2 separate regions of the Homo sapiens genome follow, and region 2 is linked to region 1. The links are contacts of gene promoters, found by promoter capture Hi-C in human tissues and cell types (Jung and others, 2019). All regions are on one chromosome and are shown on one strand. Each heading gives the region's core, a stretch centred on a gene start or on the middle of the fragment in contact. The rest is flanking DNA. Distances are from core to core; before and after follow the strand shown.

What was found. The method cuts DNA at HindIII sites, captures the fragments that hold promoters and counts their contacts. A contact is called where the count stands out against the background at its distance.
Region 2: a contact is called between a fragment that was not itself captured here and the fragment with the promoter of DHX30 in region 1, in 1 of the 25 tissues and cell types used here (IMR-90 fibroblasts).

The regions. Positions count from the first base shown.
Region 1 is chr3:47,798,235-47,805,613 of GRCh38, forward strand. DHX30 (DExH-box helicase 30) reads left to right here and starts at 4,904. Exons shown (of 22, transcript NM_138615.3): 1 at 4,904-4,978; 2 at 7,092-7,186. RefSeq lists silencers at 4,475-5,324, 6,502-6,698 and an enhancer at 5,049-5,574. The HindIII fragment of the contact is 11,371 bases long and covers 2,998-7,379 here.
Region 2 is chr3:47,647,381-47,654,759 of GRCh38, forward strand. The region is part of intron 21 of SMARCC1 (SWI/SNF related BAF chromatin remodeling complex subunit C1); the gene reads right to left. Among named protein-coding and RNA genes, the nearest start is that of SNORD146, 11 kb to the right of the region's middle. The HindIII fragment of the contact is 3,009 bases long and covers 2,261-5,269 here.

The sequences.
Region 1 (7,379 bases), core at 3,654-6,153:
GGGTTCAAGCAATTCTCCTGCCTCAGCCTCCCAAGTAGCTGGGATTACAGGCGCCCACCACCACGCCCAGCTAATTTTTATATTTTTAGTAGCGATGGGGTTTCACCACGTTGGCCAGGCTGGTCTCGAACTCTTCTTGACCTTAAGTGATCCGCCCGCCTCAGCCTCCCAGTGCCGGGATTCCAAGCGTGAGCCACCACACCTGTCCTAACTCATTCTTTTTGATTGCTGCATATTATTTCATTAAATTGATGTCACGGACTGAATTGTGTCCTTCAAAATTCATATACTGAAGCCCTAACCCTCAACTGTGACTGCATTTGGAAATAGGGCCTTTAGAGAGGTAGTTAAGGTTACATGTGGACATAAGGGCAGGCCCCCAATCAGATAGGACTGTGTCTTTATAAGTAGGGGAAGGGTCACCAGAGACCCTTCTCTTTGCACACACAGAAAAACAGCCATGTTAAAGACAGAGTTAAAGGTGGCTGTCTTGCTCTGTCACCCAGGCCGGAGTGCAATGGCAGGATCACAGTTTACTGCAGCCTCGACCTCCTGGGCTCAGGCAATTTTCCTACCTCAGCTTCCTGAGTAGCTGAGACTACAGGTATGTACCACAATGCCTGGATAAATTTTTTCAATTTTTTGTATAGATGGGGTCTTACCATTGTTGCTCAGACTGGTCTCGAACTCCTGGGCTCAAGCAATCTGCAGGACTCAGCCTCCCAAAGGCTGGGATTACAGGCATGAACTACTGCTCTGGGCAAAAATTTTCTTCCTTTCCTTTTTTTTTTTTTTTGAGACGTAGTCTCACTCTGTCACCCAGGCTGGAGTGCAGTGTTGCGATATCAGCTTACTGCAACCTCTGCCTCCCAGGTTCCAGTGATTCTCCTGCCTCAGCTTCTCGAGTAGCTGGGATCACGAGCGTGAGCCACCACGCCCGGCTTATTTTCGTATTTTTAGTAGAGTTCGGGTTTCCCCATGTTGGCCAGGCTGGTCTCAAACTCCTGACCTCAGGTGATCCACCCACCTCGGCCTCCCAAAGTGCTGAGATTACAGGTGTGAGCTACTGCGCCTGGCCTTTTCTTTTTTTTTTTTTTATGAGACAGGGTCTCACTCTGTCGCCCATTCTGGAGTGCGGTGGTGTGATCTCAGCTCACTGCAACCTTCATCTTCCCAATTCAATTGATCCTCCCAACTTTTTTTTTTTTCTTTTTTTGAGACGGAGTCTCGCTCCGTTGCCCAGGTTAGAGTGCAATGGCGTGATCTCGGCTCACTGCAAACTCTACCTCGCAGGTTCAAGCGATTCTCCTGCCTCAGCCTCCTGAACAGCTGGGATTACAGGCATGTGCCACCACGCCCGGCTAATTTTTGTATTTTAGTAGAGACAGGGTTTCACCATGTTGGTCAGGCTGGTCTCGAACTCCTGATCTTGTGATTCGCCTGCCTTGGCTTCCCAAAGTGCTGGGATTACAGGCATGAGCCACCACGTCTGGCCGATCCTCCCATGTTATCCTCCTGAGCAGCTGGGACTACAGGCGCATGTCACCAAACCCAGCTACTTTTAGTATTTTTGTAGAGAGGAGTCTCGCCTTGTTGCCCAGGCTGATCTCAAATTCCTGGGCTCAACTGACCTGCCCATCTCAGCCTCCTGAAGGGCTGGGATTTCAGGCTTGAGCCACTGTGCCTGTGGGAGATGTCTATTCAAGTATTTTGCCCCCTACTGGCCTACAGGAGCCTCTTTTGGAGTGCATCCACTTGGTCTTGAATTTTTGTTTTTTTGTTTGTTTGTTTGTTTGTTTTGAGATGGAGTTTCGCACTTGTTGCCCAGGCTGAGTGCAATGGCATGATCTTGGCTCACTGCAACCTCCGCCTCTTGGGTTCAAGTGATTCTCCTGCCTCAGCCTCCCGAGTAACTGGGATTACAGGCATGTGCCACCATGCCCGATTAATTGTGTATTTTTAGTAGAGATGGGGTTTCTCCATGTTGGTCAGGCTGGTCTTGAACTCCTGACCTCAGGTGACCCGCCTGCCTGGGCCTCCAAAGTGCTGGGATTACAGGCATGAGCCACCACACCTGGCCTTAGGTCTTGATTTATTTGTGGCTGGGCATAGTGGGTCACACCTGTAATCTCAGGAGTTTGGGAGGCTGAAGTGGGAGGATCGCTTGAGGCCAGGAGTTTGAGGTCAACCTAGGGTATCATAGTGAGACCCTTTCTCTACAAAAAATAAAAAATTATCTGGGCGTGGTGGCATGTGCCTGTAGTCCCAGCTACTCAGGAAACTGAGGAGGGAGGATTAATTGAGCCTGGGAGGTTAAGGCTGCAATAAGCCATGATGGTGCCACTGCACTCCAGCCTGGGTGACAGAGTGAGACCCTGTCTCAAAAAAAAAACAACAAAAAAAAGACATTTGCATGCTATTCTCATCCTCTCTACCAGACTATAACTTTCTTTGGAGCAGGGACCACGACTTTATCACTTAACTTTCCCAACAACATTGCAAACATAATCTGAGTGAAGCTGAATCCATCATCTTTTCCAACTCTTGTGTCCCTTAATTATGTTAATAGTACATAATCCTTTCAGTCACTATGGTACAGATCTCAAAGTCATCTCTCCACACACTTGTGGCCTGGGCTCAGTCTGCTGCTCAACAGTCACCCCCCCTTTTTTTTCTTTCTTGCTTTTCTCACTGTTGAGTTAAATCTTTCATTCTCTCTCGGGATCTAATTAGCATGCTAGTTTCTATTTTCCCAGCTGATTCAACCCTTTCACTTCCAGAGGAAGCTTTCTAAATTACAGTATTGGCCCAGCGTGGTGGCTCACGCCTGTAATCCCAACACTTTGGGAGGCCAAAGTGTGTGGACCACTTGAGGCCAAGAGTTCGAGGCCAGCCTGGCCAACATGGTGAAACCATCCCTAGTAAAAATACAAAAATGAGCTGGGCATGGTAGTGCACACCTGTAATTCCAGCTACTTGGGAGGCTGAGGCAGGAGAATCGCTTGAACGTGGGAGGTAGAGGTTGCAGTGAGCCGCAACCACCCCACTGCACTCCAGCCTGGGTGACTGAGTAGAGACTCTGTCTCAACAACAACAAAAAAGTGCAGTATTTTACTCTCCTAATAATTTTTTAAATGTCTTACCAAAAAAAGTAAAAATTCCTTAGTATGGCACTCCCCAACAGTTTTTCAGTTCTATTTCCTGTAAAGCTTGCACACACATCCAACCCTGTGGTCACACTGAACTACTGAATATTCCTAGGATTTGTCCCTTGTTCCACTCGTATGTCTTTGTTCACGTTCCTTTCATTTTGCCATTCAGGAGTAACCACTCCTTTCTCTGAACTCTTGGAGTACCTAATACCTCCTTTCCAGCATTTACCACTTTCCATTTCCTTCACACAATGTTGTCATCTTCTCTACTAGGCTCTAAGTCCCTTGAGGCAGGGCCTTTGTAGCCTCCACACCAGCTTAGCAACTGATACACAGAGCACTCAGATGTCCGTGCAGGGATCTCTCTATTCTCCACACAACACAGCACCATGCCCTGTTCAGATGCACTAATTATTTGAATGAATAAATGATGTTCCACCCCCACACCCCGGTCTTCTAGCCAATGTAGAGAGAAAGAAAAGAGATACATGTTGAACTGTTTGCACACAAAAGTGACGGGATATGGCACTAATTCTTCATACAGCCTCAAAGGTCACATCTTTTTTTTTTTTTTTTTTTAAGTTTCATTCTTGTCGCCCAGGCTGGAGTTCAATGACACGATCTCGGCTTACTGCAACATCCGCCTCCCGGGTTCAAGTGATTCTCCTGCCTCAGCCTCCCGAAGTAGCTAGGATTATATGCGCCCGCCACCACGCCCAGCTAATTTTTTTGCATTTTTAGTTGAGACGGGGTTTCACCATGTTGGCCAGGCTGGTTTTGAACTCCTGACCGCAGGTGATCCACCCGCCTTGGCCTCCCAAAGTGCTGGGATTACAGGCGTGAGCCACCACGCCCGGCCTAAAGGCCACATCTTAAAACCATACTCTGTAAAATCCTGACCCAGCTTCAGAGCTACGCCACTGCGTTGTTTCCTTTTGAAGCTGAATTCCACTGAACCTATACTTGAACCTTATCTAGAGGACTACAGCGTGTAATTGGGACAATCCCCTTTCTCATTCCTAAGAGGTGATGTGGCCGGGCGGACCTCCAGATTTCCAGCAACTATGACTGGCACTCTCCCCGCGACCAGCAAGTGCCACCTTGTCCTTTGCCTAACGTTGTACAGTTTACGAAATCAACGAACCAACACGTTGATTTCATCTTCCCTGCAAACTGGGGAGACAAGACAAAAATGCTCACCTCCCTAAAAAAACAGATTAGAGGGGAGATGGGGAAGAGAAGAGGCGTGGCTACGAGCTGTGGCGGGGAAGGCGGGTGGAATCCCGGAGCCCGAGCTGGAAACCGTTCCCCGCTCAGCCATGACCCGGGCTGTTTATTCGCATCAGGAGGCGCGGGTGGCTCGCAGAGGGCGAGAAGACCCTTCCCGCTTTCACACTGCAGGCAGCTAAGTCGCCGAGAAAGGCAGCAACTTGACGCCCGACCCCGCCACCCAAACCCGCTCGCTCTGCGACCCCAGAGCAGCCGGCGCCAACCCGTCCCCTTCGCGACTCCGCCGGAAGTCCCGCCTGCACCGCCGCCGCGCCCCATTGGGCCGGGTGCTGGGGCATCCCGGGCGCTGGGTGCCCCGAGCGGCTACGACGAGTCCCAGGTGGGGCCGGGCTCCAGGCCCGCGGGGGAGCGGAGCCGTGCGCCGCAGGCGGGCTCCGTGACGCCGGGTGGGGAACGCCGGGCCGGTGGCGGGACTTCCGCCACGGGACTCGGAAGGGGCCGCGCCGCCGCTGCTGGGAGTTGTAGTCCGGCCGTGGTTGGGGGAGCCGCGGCTCATGCGCGGTGCACAGAGGCTTGTTTCACATCTGTAACAACAGGTGAATTGGGCTTTTTATTCTCCCCTTTCGTGCCCTCTTGAGGAGCCTGCCGCGGCCGGGGGTGGTCGTCGTGAGGAGGGGGCCCGGTCCGACCGCCAGCCTGGCGGAGAGTGGGGCGGAGACGCCGGCGGGCCCGAGGAGCAGGCCGGGCATCCTAGGCCTGCCCGGGAAGCCGGCCCGGCCGATCCGTGGGCAGCCAGGCCTCGGCCTGCCGTTGCCATGGAGCCCGGGCGGGGGCGGGGGCCAGACCGGTCCGCCGGGGCGGGCCTCGCAGCCAGGGGCTCCGCGGAGGCCGTGGGAGAGGCCGCTTCATTGGCGCAACGACGCCTTCGCCTCGGGATGCGCCGTTTCCCCAGGCAGGGCCTGGAGGAAGCCTCCTGAGTGCCCCGAGACCTTTGTCTACTTCTCCTCCTTCCCGGTGCTGCCCGGACCGTTCGTCCAGAGGGAGGCCCGGTGCCTTCTGGCCCCCCTAGTTTGCCCCCTTTTGCACCGACCTTGTCACTGGGGGAGGCCAAGGGGTGAGGTATTCTTTGTTTGCTGGTGGTAACTTGTCCCATTTAGCAGGGGAAGACCAAATGCATGTTGGGTCCTTTGTTTGCAGTGAACTGGAGTCCCAGGGGTCCTCAGAAACCCTAAGCCAGGGATATGGCATATCTAGTCGTTGTGTAGCAACATTGGTCACTTGAATTATGATTTTTCAAGGCAGAGGCTGTTTCACTTTACAACCCCACTCCATGAGGGTTTGCCATACACTAGCAGGTAGACTGCAGAAGGCCACTTACAGGCTTTCAACCTGGTTTTAGTTGCAGCTTATGGGCCAGAGTGAAATGAGACGTTGTCTGGTGATTTCCCTTGAAGTTTCTTGCAAGGTGGTAACCCCACTGTCATTGTGGGTTTTAACTACATCTTGTAATTTACACTTAAATCTTAGAGATTTAAGGCGATGTGCAGAAACTACATCCTTTGCTGCGTTTTCTACCGGTGTTGGCTCTTTATCCCTAAAAGATAGTTGCTCTTCAAGTGTTTTAATTTATGTAGCTGTGATACAAAGTTTTATTAGGGCCGGGAGCGGTGTCTCACGCCTGTAATCCCAGCACTTTGGGAGGCCGAGGCGGGTGGATCACCTGAGGTCAGAAGTTTGAGACCAGCCTGGCCAACATGGCTAGACCTCGTTTCTACTAAAAATACAAAAATTAGCCGGGCATGGTGGCGTGCGCCTGTAACCCTAGCTACTTGGGAGGCTGAGGCAAGAGAATTGCTTGAACCCAGGAGGCCGAGGTTGCAGTGAGCCAAGATCGCGCCATTTCACCCCAGCCTGGGCAACAAGAGCGAAACTCCTTCTCAAAACAAAACAAAACAAAAACCACACACAAGTTTTATTAGCTGTTGGACCTTTCTTGCCCCTTTCAGCCTTTGAAGATAACAGTATAATATGTCTCAAGGAATGAACCGTAGTACATTTAGGCAACAGCATAATATCCTGGAAATAAGAAAATTAGCCTAGTATAAGCATGGAGGGTTTTGGAGTCAGCATGCTTCAATGCTGATTTCCATCTGCCCTGAGGCAGCTATGGGATCTTGGGCAGGTTGTGTAACCTGTGCTTCAGTTTTCTTCTCTGGAAAGATAATTCCTACCTCACTGGATAGTTGCCTGGATTAAATGGGGTAAAGTCTATGGAAGTATGTTGTGAACTGTAAAAATGGTATTCAACTTTGAGTTATTGTTATTTTCCCAATCTTGAAGAGTATTATAGCTTCTTTATGTTAGATTATCATAATTATTATGGGATTAGAACTCAAAGTGGAAGTAGGTTTTGCTCTGGGCTTCCAGAAAATGCTTTTCAGGCTTACAAGGCTTTCTTTACCTTGACATCTTCTTAGATGATGTCAGAAGACTTCAGCACTTCTACAGGTGCTGGTGTAGGACAGCTTACAATTTAATGGGCCTAGAATGGGTCATGGTAAGTCCTGATTTGTAAGGCCATTTTGTCCAGTATGTGCCCTTCATGCCACTAACAAAATTTGTCCTTGTTAGAGCTAGTAAATGATGGTTGGAGCAACTTTCTTTCCCTATGGGGCCTCCACTGTATTGACTCAGCGTTGTACTTCTCAGGAGGAGGCCCAGCCTCGTGATGAGGAATAGCAAGGAGAGAATTCAGCTCCAGTTCAAAAGCCTACAAAATCTGAGACTGTCATTGCTTTTATAAGGTAAGTTGATTTAGCCGTGCACAGAGCAGTGGTGGATCTGATGCTCAGCTGTACTGTAAAACAAGAGGTATGTGTTAAACCTATTTCTGACCATTTTGGAAGAAGGATATCATTTATTTTATTTTGTTTTATTTTTGAGACAGAGTCTCGCTTTGTCCCCCAGGCTGGAGTGCAGTGGCGCGATCTTGGCTTG
Region 2 (7,379 bases), core at 2,515-5,014, 150 kb before region 1:
AACTGTAGGCTAACGTAGATGTTCTGAGCATGTTGAAGGTAGACTAGGCTAAGTTACGTTTGGTAGGTTAGGTGTATTAAATGCATTTTTGACATATTTTCAACTTATAATGAGTTTATCAGAATGTAATCCCATTGAAAGCCAAGAACCATCTGTATAGCAAACATCAACAGACATAATCCACATAAACTAAAGCATTTCGGGTTCTCCTGGATATCTTTTAAGAGTATAAAGGAGTCCTGAGGCCAAAAACTTGGGAGAACTTAGTCTCAGAGATTTCTGTCTTGTCAAGAACAGAATGAAGCACATGGCAGGAACCCAGTCAATACTTATGTGAGACTAATCACGTCATTCCCTATATTTAACTGCAAGGTTCCATAAAGCCAGCAATACACAGTCCAAGCTCACAACCTTTGGCATCACAATCTCTATAATCTAGCTACAACCTACCTTTGTAGGCTATTCTTTCCATGTCCTTATTTGAACTTTGTATTGTGGCCAATCTAGTTTATTTCCCATTCTCTGAATAACTTTCCACTTCTGTTTCTGTGACTTCAATCACACTGTTTTACATAATCAAATACTTTCTTGAATCTGCTCACTGACATTCTAAACCTCTTTTACTTTTTTTTGAGACAGAGTCTCACTCTGTTGCCCAGGCTGGAATGCAGTGGCATGACCTCGGCTCAATGCAGTCTTTGCCTCCTGGGTTCAAGTGATTCTTATGCCTCAGCCTCCCAAACAGCTGAGATTACAGGGATGCGCCACCACACCCAGCTAATTTTTGTATTTTTAGTAGAGACAGGGTTTCACCATGTTGTGCAGGCTGGTCTCGAACCCCTGACTTGAGGTGATCTGTATGCCTCAGCCTCCCAAAGTGCTGGAATTACAGGCATGAGCCACCGCACCCGGCCTTATAAACCTCTTTTTCTATGTTCAGCTCAAATACTACTTTTTTTTGTGAAGCATTCCTCCATCAAAAATTACATGTCCCCTTGTAAGAATTCATTTTTTTATTTTTTAAGAGACAGAGTCTTGTTCTGTCACCCAGGCTGGAGTACAGTGGCACAATCAGAACTCACTGCAGCCTCGAACTTCTGGGCTTAAGCGATCCTTCCATCTCTGCCTCCCAAGTAGCTGGGACAACAAGTGTGTGTCACCATATCTGGCTAGGTTTTTTTTCTTTTTTGTAGAGACGAGGTCTCACTATAGTATGTTGCCCAGACTAGTCTCAGACTCCTTAGCCCAAATGATTCTCCCACCTCAGCTTCCCAAAGTGGTGGGATTACAGTTGTGAGCGACCACACCTGGCTCCTGTGTAATAATTCTTATAGCCCTTCCTGTGTAGAGTCTTCCATGGACAAATAATACTATGCTTCACTCTATTGCCAACCCACCAAATGCTAAAATTATTTTTTTCATGTATGTGTAGCACAAAAAATAGCTTCAATTAGTAGAGTATTAACTGTATGTCGCATGACATGACTTGCCCACAGCAAGGGGAATATCTCAAATATCCAAAATGCCTGATTTGATTAAACAATCCCCCAAAGGCAGACAGTTATATTTTGTAACAAAAGCCAATTTCTTCCTGAAAATATACATCCTACTACCTAATAAATATGAGACATCAGGAAAGTCACGTAAACCCTAGTCAGTCCTTAGAAATTAAATGTCCAATTATGAGCTATTCAGAAGTTTGAGTCTATATTTCAATATGTTTTTACTATACTTGAAAGAGCCCTTTAAATATAACAAAGAGAAAGAGAGAAGCCCACTCCACGTGATGTAAGTCTGATGATCAAATATGGTTCCACATTTTTCTTACATGCATTGGCCTAGGGTGTTTTCACACATGGTGTTTTAGAAGTGCCTGACTTTAAAAATAATGTTATGGAAATCCTCATGGTGAGAAGAGCAAGGCTACTTATAAGCTATGAATAGCATCTGAGGCGAGAATTCTAACAGTCATTTCTGGGCTGTATGTTCTTAGAAAGTTACTTCTTCGGTATTATTTATTTCAGGATTATCTTAATCTCATAATGGTCTAGAGACTAGTTAGTCCTTAACCTTCTTAAAAACTAGGAACCATTAGTTGGGTTCTTTAACACAGAGCTGTGACAACTGGCTCAAGATGTACTCATGGGAAACCTGTATTCCACAGGCTGTTAAGGAGCTCGGTAGACAATCTACTCATTGATATATTTTTAAAAACTCTTGATTATTCTATTTGTGATTAAATTTTACCAAAAGTCATCAACTTGTAAGGAAAACACTTCAATTAACTCAATCCCTCAAAACCTGTCCAAACCAGAATTGAGATGCAGACAGTAAATCCACTCAGTAGCAAAAGAAATGAAACTAATACTTGAGATCAGGAAATATAAATGAGGGTAACAATAAAAGATTTTTGAGAAACCCTTGACTAGCCCTTGAATGTACAAGTACATTCCAACTCTCTTGAGGGAAAGGGCTGGTGTCCCAAAAAGGGACTAAAATTCATTGTATTAAATAACTGATGTAGGAAAATGTCCTTATCCTTAGGAAATACATGGTGGACTATTTAGGCTACAAAGAATCATCGAATGTCTTCAACCTACTTTGAAATAATTCAGGCCGGGCTTGGTGGCTCACGCCTGTAATCCCAGCACTTTGGGAGGCCGAGGCAGGCGGATCACGAGGTCAGGAGATCGAGATCATCCTGGCTAACACGGTGAAGCCCTGTCTCTACTAAAAATACAAAAAATTAGCCAGGCATGGTGGTGGGCGCCTGTAGTCCCAGCTACTTGGGAGGCTGAGGCAGGAGAACGGCGAGAACCCCAGAGGCGGAGCTTGCAGTGAGCGGAGATCGTGCAACTGCACTCTAGCCTGGGCGACAGAGCGAGACTCTGTTTAAAATAATAATAATAATAATAATAATTATTATTATTATTATTATTCAAGAAAAAAATAAAAACATTTCTTTAGATAGCTAAATAAATATCAAAAAGTTGAACCTAACTAGTAGGTATACAAGATTTCACTGTGCTATCCTATCAATGTTTGCTGTAAGTAAACAAACTACAAGATAGGCGATTTTGTTTAGTTTCCAAGTCATGTAAAAAAATATCTACCTGTAATCCTAGCAAAACACAAGCATAAAATGTGGCCTTGGGTTGAGTGCAGTGGCTCATGACTGTAATCCCAGCACTTTGAGAGGCCAAGGTGGGATGATGGCTTGAGCTCAGGAGTTTGAGACTAGTCTAAGCAACATAGTGAGACCCTGTCTCTACAATAACTAAAAGAATTAGCCAGGGATGGTGGTGCACACCTGTAGTCCCAGATACTCGGAGGCAGAAGTGGGAGGATCACTTGAGCCCAGGAGGTCAAGGCTGTAGTGAATCATGATCATGCCACTGTATCCAGCCAGGGAGACATAGCAAGACCCTGTCTCTTTAAAAAAAAATAAAAATAAATAAAGAAAAGTTTAATAAAATCTTTATAGAGCTTTTTAATAAAAGCCTTAGTGATGCAATGAAGAAAATTTTCTTTGAAAATCAAATATGTTATCTGCATAATAAATCAATTTAACAACTTCTACATGGGGGTATATTCTCAATCGAAAAGTTACAGTAAGACTTGAAAAAATATAGGTCAGACTCAGGCCAGGTGTGGTGGCTCACGTCTGCAATCCCAGCTCTTTGGGACGCTAAGGCAGGCAGATTGCTGGAGTCCAGGAGTTTGAGACCAGCCTAAGCAACATGGCGAAACCCTGCCTCTATAAAAAACACACAAAAATCAAGGTGTGGTGATGCACCCCTGTGGTCCCAGCTATTGGGGAGGCTGAGGTGGGAGAATCACCTGAGCCCAGGATGCAGAGGTTGCAGTGAGCCAAGATTGTGCCACTGCACTCCAGTCTAGGCAACAGAGTGAAACCCTGTCTCAAATATATATGTCAGACTCTGACACTCTTTTGGTCAAACTGCTCCACTTGCTCCACTTTGCATAAAGACTTAAACATTAATATTTTACAATAGCCCACAAATTACCTTAACATCTCATATGACCTCCCCTCCCCCACCAATCGAGCTATTATAACTTTACATGAGCCTCCTTGCTGTTCTTCAAGTATGCCAGGTAGCTCCTGCCCAGGGGGCTTTACACTGGCTTCTGCCAATACTGGGAACACTCTTACACTGGATGCCTACATAGCAGTCTTGCTCACCTTATTTACATCTTTGCTCAAAAGTCACTTTCTCAATGAGACTTTCCCTGATCATTTAAAATTGTAATTCCCACACTTTACTCATATCCTTGCAACCCTGCTTTGCTTTTCACCATAGCACATCAGCCAACATACTCTTCATATATAATTACATCTATACACGTTAAGTTTTACTTATTTGATTAGATTGCTGTCCATCTTACACTCTATAAATATAAAATATAAAGGGGAGAAATTTTGGTTTACTTTGTTTACCAGTATCCTAGCATCCAGAACACAAAGAAATGATGTGATAATATGATACACTGAGTTTGATTTTTTGTGATTATGTCCAAGAAAGCTTCTCTGGCACAGGCTCATGCACTGAATGACACTGACTGAATTTTGGTGTAAGGTTTTTGGTTTTTATTTGAGACATGGTCTCGCTTAGTCACCTAGGCTGGAATGCAGTAGTGTGGATCACAGCTCTCTGTAGCTTGGGCTCAGGTGATCCTCTCACCTTGTCTTCCTGAGTAGCTAGGACTACAGGTTTGCACCACCATGCTCAGCTAATTTTTTTATTTTTACTTTTTGTAGAGATGGGGTCTTGCTATGTTGACCAGGCTGGTCTCGAAATCCTGGCCTAAAGCAATTCTCCTGCCTGCCAAAATGTTGGGATTACGAGCATAAGCCACAGCACCCAGGCTTCTGTGGGTTTTGTTGGCATTCAGTGGCATATAGAGGAAGTCAACCACAGCTGCTCTGCCTGATGCATTTGCCTATTTCAGGAGACAGGTGTTAAGTTCTCAAGAGGGCCTGGGCTCTTCAGCATTATATTTCCCATAGTATCTAAGACGGAATAGTATTTTGGAGCTATTAAGCCTTTAAAGATGCTTGTTCAATGAATGAAAACCACACAGACACATCTACAAATTTTACTTCTGGCAGCCTGCTACAATGAAGAGAAGTAGAGCTTTGGGATTAGAGAGATTTAGGTTAAATTTCTGGTTCAGATACACACTTATGTAACCTCTCCATGCCTCAGTTTCCTTGCTTTTGCAAAAAAAAAAAAAAAAAGTTACTTCCTCCAAAGGATTCTCCTGAAAAGAAACTCAAATGGCCAATCAAAAATCCCTATACAATGTGGACTAAATATGGGTACTCAGAAGTATTTTTTGTATGCCTAGAATGGTCCAGTCAATGAAAAACAAAAAATATATAAATGTACAGAAATTAATAGTTCTTGGTGAGTGACCATAGTTAAAAAGATGGACTGAAGAAGACCCTTCTCATAAGAAAACACTCATTTCCTAAATAATTCCTATGGGAAATCACTTAAAATATAAATGTAAGAGGTGTTTTGAGTGTTCATCCAGCTTTACTTTCTTTTTTTTTTTTTTTTTTGAGACGGAGTCTCGCTCTGTCGCCCAGGCCGGACTGCGGACTGCAGTGGCGCAATCTCGGCTCACTGCAAGCTCCGCTTCCCGGGTTCACGCCATTCTCCTGGCCTCAGCCTCCCGAGTAGCTGGGACTACAGGCGCCCGCCACCGCGCCCGGCTAATTTTTTGTATTTTTAGTAGAGACAGGGTTTCACCTTGTTAGCCAGGATGGTCTCGATCTCCTGACCTCATGATCCACCCGCCTCGGCCTCCCAAAGTGCTGGGATTACAGGCGTGAGCCACGGCGCCCGGCCGCTTTACTTTCATTTCACCATATACATCATATATTTCTTTTCTTATCCAAATTCACAATGAAATGTTAGATAGGTTAATGACAGGAACCCAAAACAAGTACTATATTTCTTAAGGAAGCTTATTTTCCCTATAGTATGATTTTACCATAGTTAATACCTATGTGTACACATTTGTAACACAGTAAATTATCACAATAAATAGTACCATGAACCCACCACCCAAGTACACTATTATCTTGCTAAGTAAAATCCTATATCACTCGGTTTCAAATCAGTGTGCTATGCAATAAGGCAGTATTTGTGACATGAAACGTAAGAGACATACTGTTGACTTCCTACTACAATTTTGTTGAGCCAATTCCCAAGGGAGAAACATTTGCTGTTTTTCAATTTATTCCATTTGTCAGAATCCAATATAAATCATATTATCTATAATAGTCCAGCATAAGTTACAGGGACCTATTCTCAACTCATTTGAAATATTTATGTTATGGTCTGTTTTCCTTACCCTTATTATAAGAGGACCCAAATTCTGTTGCTGCAATTAGTGAGTACAGAACACACTTGAAAGAAGTTAACTGGGAGGCTACTTCCAGATACCGTGAATGAATTTTACTGTTAATGCCACTCAAAGGTCAGCCCTTGTAGTCTCATGTGCCTCCTGTAGCAGTCTAACCTCTGCATGCTCCACAAACCATAAATTCACTAATGAATCAGGAGAATCCAGCCCCAAAGAAACCAAGGTTGCTAGATACTTCAGTCTTGTTTCAAAACCCACTAAACTAGAAATGGCTAAATTTGCAACCTATTTCATAGCCACTAATGCTCTATGGTATCGTCTACCAAAATGTGTTTTCAAAACATACATGTAAAAACACATCCCTCATTTGGCAAAGTACACAAATCTCACTGAATCAAATAAGACTGCCAATGTTTTTTCAACTCCATAACCACAGAGAACCAAAAGACCCTACAAATGAACCAATACCAAAAACATTTAGGAAATTAAGACCCAGGCTTCATTAGCCCCAGGTTTTTCCAGCCTATGCTGGGTACTGTCTGGTGGTGCAGAATCAACATAGAAGAACAGAGACGTGACTTCGCCTGCTAATTTCAGTCTCCATATAAGAAAAAGAAAATAAGTTAATTTTCAAACTAAGAATTATAGATACTCTCAAATTGCTTTTAAATCAAAGAGTTGGTACTCTAGGTGTAACCAACGTTAAGAAGAGTTAGAACAATAATTTGCGCAGAGGACTGGGATCTTAGTCCATTTTCTGCTGCTATAAAAGCCTATCTGAAACTAGATAACTTATAAAGAAAAAGGGTTTATTTAGCTCACAGTTCCACAGACTTAGAAGTTCAAGGGCATGGCCCCGATTCCTAGCAAAGGATTTTGTTCTGTGTCGCAACATGGCAGAGGAGGTCAAAGGAGACGCAGACAGGTGTACCAAGAAGAGAAACCTGAGGAGGGTCCTGAAATTATAACAACCCACTCTGAGG